2 separate regions of the Homo sapiens genome follow, and region 2 is linked to region 1. Evidence: promoter capture Hi-C in human tissues and cell types (Jung and others, 2019). All regions are on one chromosome and are shown on one strand. Each heading gives the region's core, a stretch centred on a gene start or on the middle of the fragment in contact. The rest is flanking DNA. Distances are from core to core; before and after follow the strand shown.

Region 1 (3,877 bases), core at 1,233-3,732:
CATGTTCAGCCAAACCTCAGCATGTAACCTTATTTGGAAATAGAGTCTTTACAGATGTAATCAGTTGAGGGGGTCTTGTGATTAAATCATCCTGGATTTAGGGTGGGCCCTAAGTCCAATGACTGGTTGTCCTTATAAGAAGACAAGACAGGGAGACACAGAGAAGAACACCCTGTGAAGATGGAAGCAGAAATTGGAGTGGTGCTGCCACAAGCCAAGGAATAGCAGGAGTCCCCATAAGCTGGAAGACTCAAAAAATTCTCCCTAAGAGCCTTCAGAGGAAACATGGACTTTCAGACAACTTGGTTTCATACTTCTGACCTCCAGAAATGTGAGAAGATAAAGTTCTATTGTTCTAAGCCCCTAAGTTCGTGGTAGTCTGTTATGACATCCCTAGGAACCTAGGAACCTAATATAGAGAAATAAAGGCTATGCTTTTTATGTGGCATGATGGAGATGGCCCCAGAATAGTGAAAGGCCATGGCTCTTCTCCTTCCATTGTGTACACAGAAAAGAACACCCCTTCGAAAGCAAAAGCAAAGGCCAGGCACGGTGGCTTATGCCTGAAATCCCAACATTTTGGGAGGCCGAGGCGGGCAGATCACTTGAGGTCAGGAGTTCAAGGCCAGCCTAGCCAACATCGCAAAACCCCATCTCTACTAAAAATACAAAAAGAATTAGCCGGGTGTTGTGACTCACACCTGTAATCCCAGCTACTCAGGAGGCTGATGCAGGAGAATCACCTGAACCCAGGAAGCGGAGGTTGTGGTGAGCTGGGATGGCGCCACTGCATTCCAGCCTGAGCGATAGAGTGATACGTCTCAAAAAAAAAAAAAAAAAAAAGCAAAAGCGAAAGCAAAGAAAGATTCAAGGGCAGATTTGCAGTGACTTATCATGTCTACAGACTGGGAAAAGCTGGTAGAAAAGAGGAGGAAACCATTCTCAGGAAACTCTACCTTTCAATTCCTCCAGTCATGAGCTCCAGGGTTGGATGCTCCCGCAATGGCAAAACTCCGCTCTCGTTACTGTCATGGGGCCACCACCACCCACCAAGCATCAGCCCATCTTTCCATAATGTCAAGTCTAGAGTGACATTTGTCTAATGTTTGCCTACCTGGAGATGTTGCCCCGCCCACCACCACCAGCAAAAACAACCGGCACCCATCTTATACGGATAATTCCCTACCTAAGGAGTTCTAGAAATGCATGGCCCACCAAAACTCAGGGTGGGTCATGCATTTCTAGAGGAAGAAATGGTGATATGGAGAGAAAGCTTGTCCTAACCCACTTCTACCAAAGTAGGATTAAAGTCAATTTGAAAAAAAACACCCGTTTCTCCTTTTATATAAAAACCAAATGCAGAAACTATAGAGAAATGTAATAAGCTTGACTCTACACAAATACCAAAATACACTGTAAACAAAATTAAAGGTAACTGACAAATTGAGGAAATATTTGCAACGTATATCACAAGCCAAGTTTTCAAGCATCAAAAGTCCTTACAAAACCCATTTTTACAAAGATGAATGTCAAGTTTTAAAATGGACAAAAGACAGGAAAATGCAAATCACACAATAAGGACAAATGGCACTCAAGATATGGGAAAAAGTCTATTCTTCCTACTAAAAAGGAAGTGAATACAATTAAAGATGCCAATTTTTGACAATAAAATGGGCAAAAAAATTTTAAGAAAAAAGAGAATTTCCAATGCGGGCCAAGTATCGGGACACTTACTGGAAGGCAGTTTCCCTCTACCTTTAGAAAGCCTCAAAGTGAGCATATGCTTTGGCCCTGCAACCTCGCTTGTAGGAATTTATCCTAAGGAAACAGTCAGGGGTGACCTCAAAGATTCATCTGCAAGGATATTCAACATGGCTTTGATGCAGGAAAAAAAGTAAATAAATAAAAGGAAACAATGTAAGTCTTCCTAAATTATGCCAAATTCCTATGCTGTCATTAAAAAACATCTATAACTCCATCATCTAGGTGATTTTGACTTTTGCTTTGGACTTGCCTGTACATTTCTAAATTCTCTATGCCAAACATGCATTGTTTTGTCATCAGATTTTGTTTTACAAAAAAAAAAAAAAAATCGTCTTTATGACAAGGGGTTAATAGGGGAACTGTGCTTCCCAGGAATTGACCAGGCGTCTACACCCACCTACTGACTCAAGTTACCTAAGACTGACAGAGCCTTAAGAGGTCAGGAGAGCGCCAGAGCGCGTGACAGGCTCCCTCGTCTCGGTGCGGCCACGCGGGAAGGCAGGGTCCCGGGCGCCGAACAGGGACGGCAGGAGGATCGTTTACAGACGTCTACACAAGAAACTCACTTCCCGTCACCGAAGACAAACGCGAGGCCACACTGACCTCCAGGCCCAAGACGCCCCTCCCCGCCGCGGCTCCTGCTGCCCGAGTGCGCATGCGCGCGCCCAGCCCCCGCAGGCCGGCGCTTCCCAGGAGGCCCCGCGCGCGGGTTTCCATGGGGACGCGCCGGCGCTGCGGCGTTGGCGCAGTCGTGGGAACAGCGCGGAGCAGGTAACGGCCCCGCTGCTGCCGTCGTCCCCCTCAGCCGGTTACCCTGTTACAGCCCCAGCTCTGGGCCCTTCCGGACCCTCCTGCTACGCTCTTTCTGGGCTTCCAGTATCGCCGGTCACTCAGTCCTCGCCCCTGCCTGCCTCGCTGGCGCCCCGCCGTTTCCTCCTCGCGGCACAGTTTGCCAAGGAACAGCTACCCCGGCTCGGCAGTGACCGGGCGCCCCGGCGACACACGTACTCTCAGGCCCGCTGGGCAGGGGGACGGCCTGGGCCGAGGTGACCTAGCGCTCCCGGGGCCGCGCCTGGGTCTGGCGAGGGGGCGGAGGCCGATCTCACCGCCGCCCCACCGAGGGAACTTTGGGGTTTTTCTATCTGAATCTTCTATCTGACCTCCGATTTTGCCTCTGCTTACTTGCTGTTTTGCTTTGGATTAGTTTTTCTTTCTAACCTTAGCGCTGGCATCTCCCTATCTCGTAGGAATCTAAATCTTTTGAAATGTCTTCTCTGTCTGTGTTTGTCCCCCACTCACCCAGCCTCGGGGCTCTTTATCCACACCCTCCCCTCAGCGTGTTAACGTTTCGTTGCCACACTTAAGCCAACGGTTAACTTTTTTCAGAGACCAGTTTTCACGGCTGAATGTGAGCTTGAGCCTTTTTTCTGTCTACACTCAATCCCTAGATGAACTCATCCAGTCGCCTGTACTCAGAGCCTATCTGAATTCCAGTGAGCCCCAAGTGTGCATTCCCAGCCCTCGCCCCTCCCCTGAACACCAGATCCCTGCATTTAGCTGCCTGCCACATCCCTACTTGGATGTCTACGGCATCTCAAACACAGCTCGTCCAAGATAGCGCTCAATAATTCCCCAAGCCAAGCCTGTCCTCCCACAATCTTAATCCATCATAGTTGCTGGAAATTCCATCCTCCAGTTGCCCGAGTCTTGCATCCTGTTTGAGTCCTGTTTTTCTCTTCCTCACCTTCAGTCTGTCAGCACTGCCTTCAAAATGCACCCAGAATAGATTCACAATTCTACCATTTCTCTCAACCGCCACTGTCACCACCTTGGTCCAGGCCCCCATCATCTGGTGCGTGGATTATTTTACTTGCTTCCTAATTGGTTTCCCTGAGTCTGCCCCTCCCCCACTTGAGCATGACAGTCTTAATGGTATTTCCCCGTTCTCTGTTATTTCGTATGAGTAAGTTTTTTAAAGGATTATATAAATTACAATTTCCTTATATAAATTACAACTTCCATAGGTAAAAGTGCAGTATTTTCAGTATGTATTTTGCAAATTGCAACTTTTAAACCGGGTCAGCAAGGCCATATAAGCATCCTGCTAACAAGC
Region 2 (4,220 bases), core at 639-3,138, 75 kb before region 1:
AGTAAATAAAATGCTGGGGAAAAATCAAATACATTTAAAAACTGTTCACAATGGGAGAATGAGATAAGCTTCAAGAGATCCTTGCTATTCCAACCATGTAGGAGACAGTGAACTTGCCCATACACCAAGTACATAAATACTACAGCCAACATCTGGGAAAGCCAGCACACAAAGACTCTCTATAACTAAGGAACTCATACGGAGTCTTCCCCCCTAAAATCACCAAGAATCAAATTAGGCTATAATAAACTATAAACATTGAAGTCAGACCCTTAAGAGAAAAAAAAAAAGAAATTAAAGAAAAAAATACAGTCAAATACATTCAAGAACAATTTGAAAAAATAGTCTACCCAAATGAGAAAGAACCAGAGAATTAATTCTGGTAATATGACAGAATAGGGTTCAATAACACCCCAAAAGATCACACTAGCTCCCTAGCAATGAATTCAAACCAATCTAAAATCCTTGAAATAGCAGACACAGAATTCAGAAGATTGATTATTAAGCTACTCAAGGAGATACCAGAGAAAGGTGAAAAACAAAATAAAGGAATTTTTTAAAATTCAGGATATGAATGAAAAATTTTCCAGAAAGATGGGTATCATAAAGAAAAACCAATTAGAACTCCTGGAAATTAAAGACACACTTAGGGAAATACAAAATGCAGTGAAAAGTTTTAAGAATAGACTAGAACAAGTAGAAGAAAGAATTTCAGAGCCTGAAGACAAGGCTTTTGAATTAACCCAATCAGAATCAAAATAAATGAACAAAATCTCCAAGAAATATGGGATTATGTAAAATGGCCATACCTAGTATAACTGGTGAAGGAACTCAAACAAATCATCAAGAAAAGAACAAATAACCCATCAAAAAGTGGGAAAGGACATGAATAGACATTTCTCAAAAGAAGACAAACAGCCAACAAACATACAAAAAAAATGCTCAACATCACGAATGCAGGGAAATGCAAGTTAAAACCACAATGAGATGCTACATTACTGCTGCAAGAATGGCCATAATGAAAAAGTCAAAAAACAATAGATGTTGGTATAGATATGGTGAACACTTTTACACCACCAGTAGGAATGTAAAATAGTGCAATCACTATGGAAAACTGAATGGAGATTCTTAAAAGAATCTCCAGACTACATACATAGAACTACCATTTGACCCAGCAATCCCACTACTGGGTATCTACCCAAAGGAAAAGAACTTATTGTATGAAATGGACACATGCGCATGCATGTTTATAGCAGCACAATTCACAATTGCAAAGATATAGAACTAACCTAAGTGCCCATCAACCAACAAGTGGATAAAGAAAATGTGGTATATATACAACCACGGAACACTACTCATCCATAAAAAGGAATGAAATAATGTCATTTGCAGCAAACTTAGATGGAGCTGGAGGCCATTATTCTAAGTGAAGTAACTCGGGAATCAAAAACCAAATATCATGTGTTCTCACTTATAAGGGAGCACTAAGCTGTGAGGACACAAAGGCATAACAATGATATAATGAAATTTAAGGGATTGAGGGGATGTTTGGGAGGGGGTTGAGGGATAAAAGCCTACATATTAGGTACACTGCTTGGGTGACAGGTGCACTAGAATCTCACAAATCACCACTAAAGAACGTATCTATGTAAACAAAAACTACCTGTACCCCAAAAATTATTGAAACAAAAAGTGCATCAAAAATAAGAAAATACACAGAGAAGAAAAAAGAATAAAGAACAATGAAGCAATCCTACAGGATCTAGAAAGTAGCCTAAAGGGGTAAACCTAATAGTTATTAGCCTTAAAGAGGAGGTAGAGAAAAAGGTAGGGACAGAAAGTTTATTCAAAGGGAAGGTAACAGAGTTTCCCATACCTAGAGAAAGGTATCAATATCCAAGTACAAGGCAGTTATAGAACACTAAGCAGATTTAACCCAAAGAAGACTACCTCGAGGCATTTATAGTCAAATTCCCAAAGGTCAAGGATAAAGAAAAGATCTTAAAAGCAGCAAGATAAAAGAAACAAATAACGTACAATGGACCTCCAACAGACTTTTCAGTAGAAACCTTACAAGCCAGGAGAAAGTGACATGGCATATTTGAAGTGCTGAAGGGAAAATACTTACCCCAGAATAGTACATGCAGTGGAAATATCCTTCAAACATGAAGGAGAAATAAAAACTTTCCCAAAAAAACAAAATGCATGCTTGTACCAAAATATCTCATATAACCCATAAATATATACACCTATGTACCCACAAAATTTTTAATTTAAAATTAAAAATAATTTTTTAAAAAGCAGGGACTACAGAGAAACCTGACCTGCTACAAAACGAACTAAAATTCATGTCATGGGATTAAGACGCACTCATTAAACCATCCTCAACTAGAAGGAGTTGTTCTCTCAGCTAAAAATACCATGTGGGGCTGGTTGCAACTCTGGCACATCACTGCGTGGCAGTTGATAGCTCAGAACCAAATGAGTTATTGGTGTGTGTGTGTCCTTCCGCATCAGTGGGCAAGATATATCCAAGGACAACCAGGCTGGAAAAGGCAGGTGGCAGTTTTAGTATTTTCTCTCTGCAACCTGAAACTTCGGATCTGAGGCCACTGACCAATTTCTAGAACCCTGTGGGTGGACAGTGACCCAGTTCCCTCTGTAACTGGCGCTGGTGGTGGCGGCCACAGCTAGCGGCCCAAAGAACTGGAAGATGAAGGTAATGGAATAGACCTCTGATGGTGCAACTAAGAAAACAAAATAGGTGGATAGTAAGTGAGAAGGGCAAGGCACCTTGCACCAGGGCCCGAACGGCATCGAGTCTGAAGACAGAATGCGAGGACCAAAGCCAGGCGGAGGAGGCGCTCTGGGGCCAAGGCGCACACTGCCCACGGCCAGCCAGGCACCGTAGAGGAACCGTACTGTGGTCCAGGACCGAGAGGAAAGGGCTTGTTGGGAAGGCTGTTCGTGGCTTTGGAGTGGGACACAGGTATATCTCAGCTTCGGTTCAGCCATTGCCGAAGTACTGAATTGAAACCCGGTGCCTCAGTTTCCTCCTTGCCAGATAAAGATGGTATCCACCTCATCGGGTTACTGTGGCAACACACGAAGCCTTTAATACAGAGCCCGGCTCATAGCAGGCACTCCGTTAGTGTTAGTGAATAAAAATAATAGGAAAGCCCACACCCTGATTGTAAGCCTAGACTGTGAGCTTGATTCATGGGAGTCTGCCTCGGAGGTTTCTCTCACCTCCCCTGACAAGATCCGGGTGCTAAATCTACAGAATGCCGGACTGGAACCAGGAGCCCCCCAGGTTAAGCCCCCACTCCACGCCCCCTCTATGCTACTCACACCTGTCCACCTGAGCCCCTCCCCAACTGGAATCTTCCACACCTGAGTACATTTCCGCATCATTGAACAATCTCCTGACTTCTGATTTGGAAAACAGCCAGATGCACTGATACATTTTAAAGATTTCCCAACTCAGTTTTACTACTTCCAAGAAAGTCCTTCCAAAACAAAGTAGTGAAAAAGCCAAGTAACCTAGACAACTGTGAAAGGAATGCCTTTGTTAGGATCGTGAATATATTTCCAAATATTTGGACATATGTTCTATTCGAACTAAAAGTCTTGCGAAAGAAAAGGATAATCAACCCCTTCAATAATCAGAGTTCTGTTTTTACTTATTTGATAAGATAGAACCCCATTAGAGGCTAAAAGACCCCGTATCTTTATCAAAATTGTCAACATGCAATCAGTTGTTGACTGAATTTAGGCTCCTTTTGTATAATGCAAGGATGTGCATTCAAACAATAAATGCACATTTGGCCCAAAATAAAGTTATCTTGGATAAAAGCTTTATAAATGATACACTAATTAATTCACAAATTAATTATAAGTAGAGTTTTTGTCTATTTTCCTCCATCTGGTTGACAAATACCTCTTCCCACCTTCTAATGTCAACTAGCAGTACCCTGACTCGGGTTCACAGCCAGGGGACCTCGGGGGCAGCGACACCATAGCAAGAAGCTTGTCTTTTATCGCCACCTAATGGCCATTCTCTGTTATTACAATGTACCAGGCCCTTCACACCTACTTGCCGTGCTTGCACAGGTGTTAACAGTTAAATGAGGTGCGGTTTTTTTGTTTTGTTTTGTTTTGTTTTTGAGAAAGGGTCTTGCTCTGTCACTCGGGCTGGAGAGCAGTAGCGTGATCAATGG

The links. Contacts are between HindIII fragments. The study calls those that stand out against the background at their distance.
Region 2: a contact is called between a fragment that was not itself captured here and the fragment with the promoter of LCA5L in region 1, in 2 of the 25 tissues and cell types used here (hippocampus and pancreas).

Annotation. Positions count from the first base shown.
Region 1 is chr21:39,444,383-39,448,259 of GRCh38, reverse strand. It overlaps LCA5L (lebercilin LCA5 like), which reads left to right and starts at 2,482. Exons shown (of 11, transcript NM_152505.4): 1 at 2,482-2,535. All of the region lies in intron 8 of GET1-SH3BGR (GET1-SH3BGR readthrough), which reads right to left. MIR6508 (microRNA 6508) reads right to left here and starts at 1,250; the gene lies at 1,191-1,250. It also overlaps a transcript of SH3BGR not described here. RefSeq lists a silencer at 2,312-2,571. The HindIII fragment of the contact is 9,266 bases long and covers 1-3,877 here.
Region 2 is chr21:39,518,315-39,522,534 of GRCh38, reverse strand. No RefSeq gene overlaps it. Among named protein-coding and RNA genes, the nearest start is that of SH3BGR, 68 kb to the right of the region's middle. The HindIII fragment of the contact is 5,481 bases long and covers 1-4,220 here.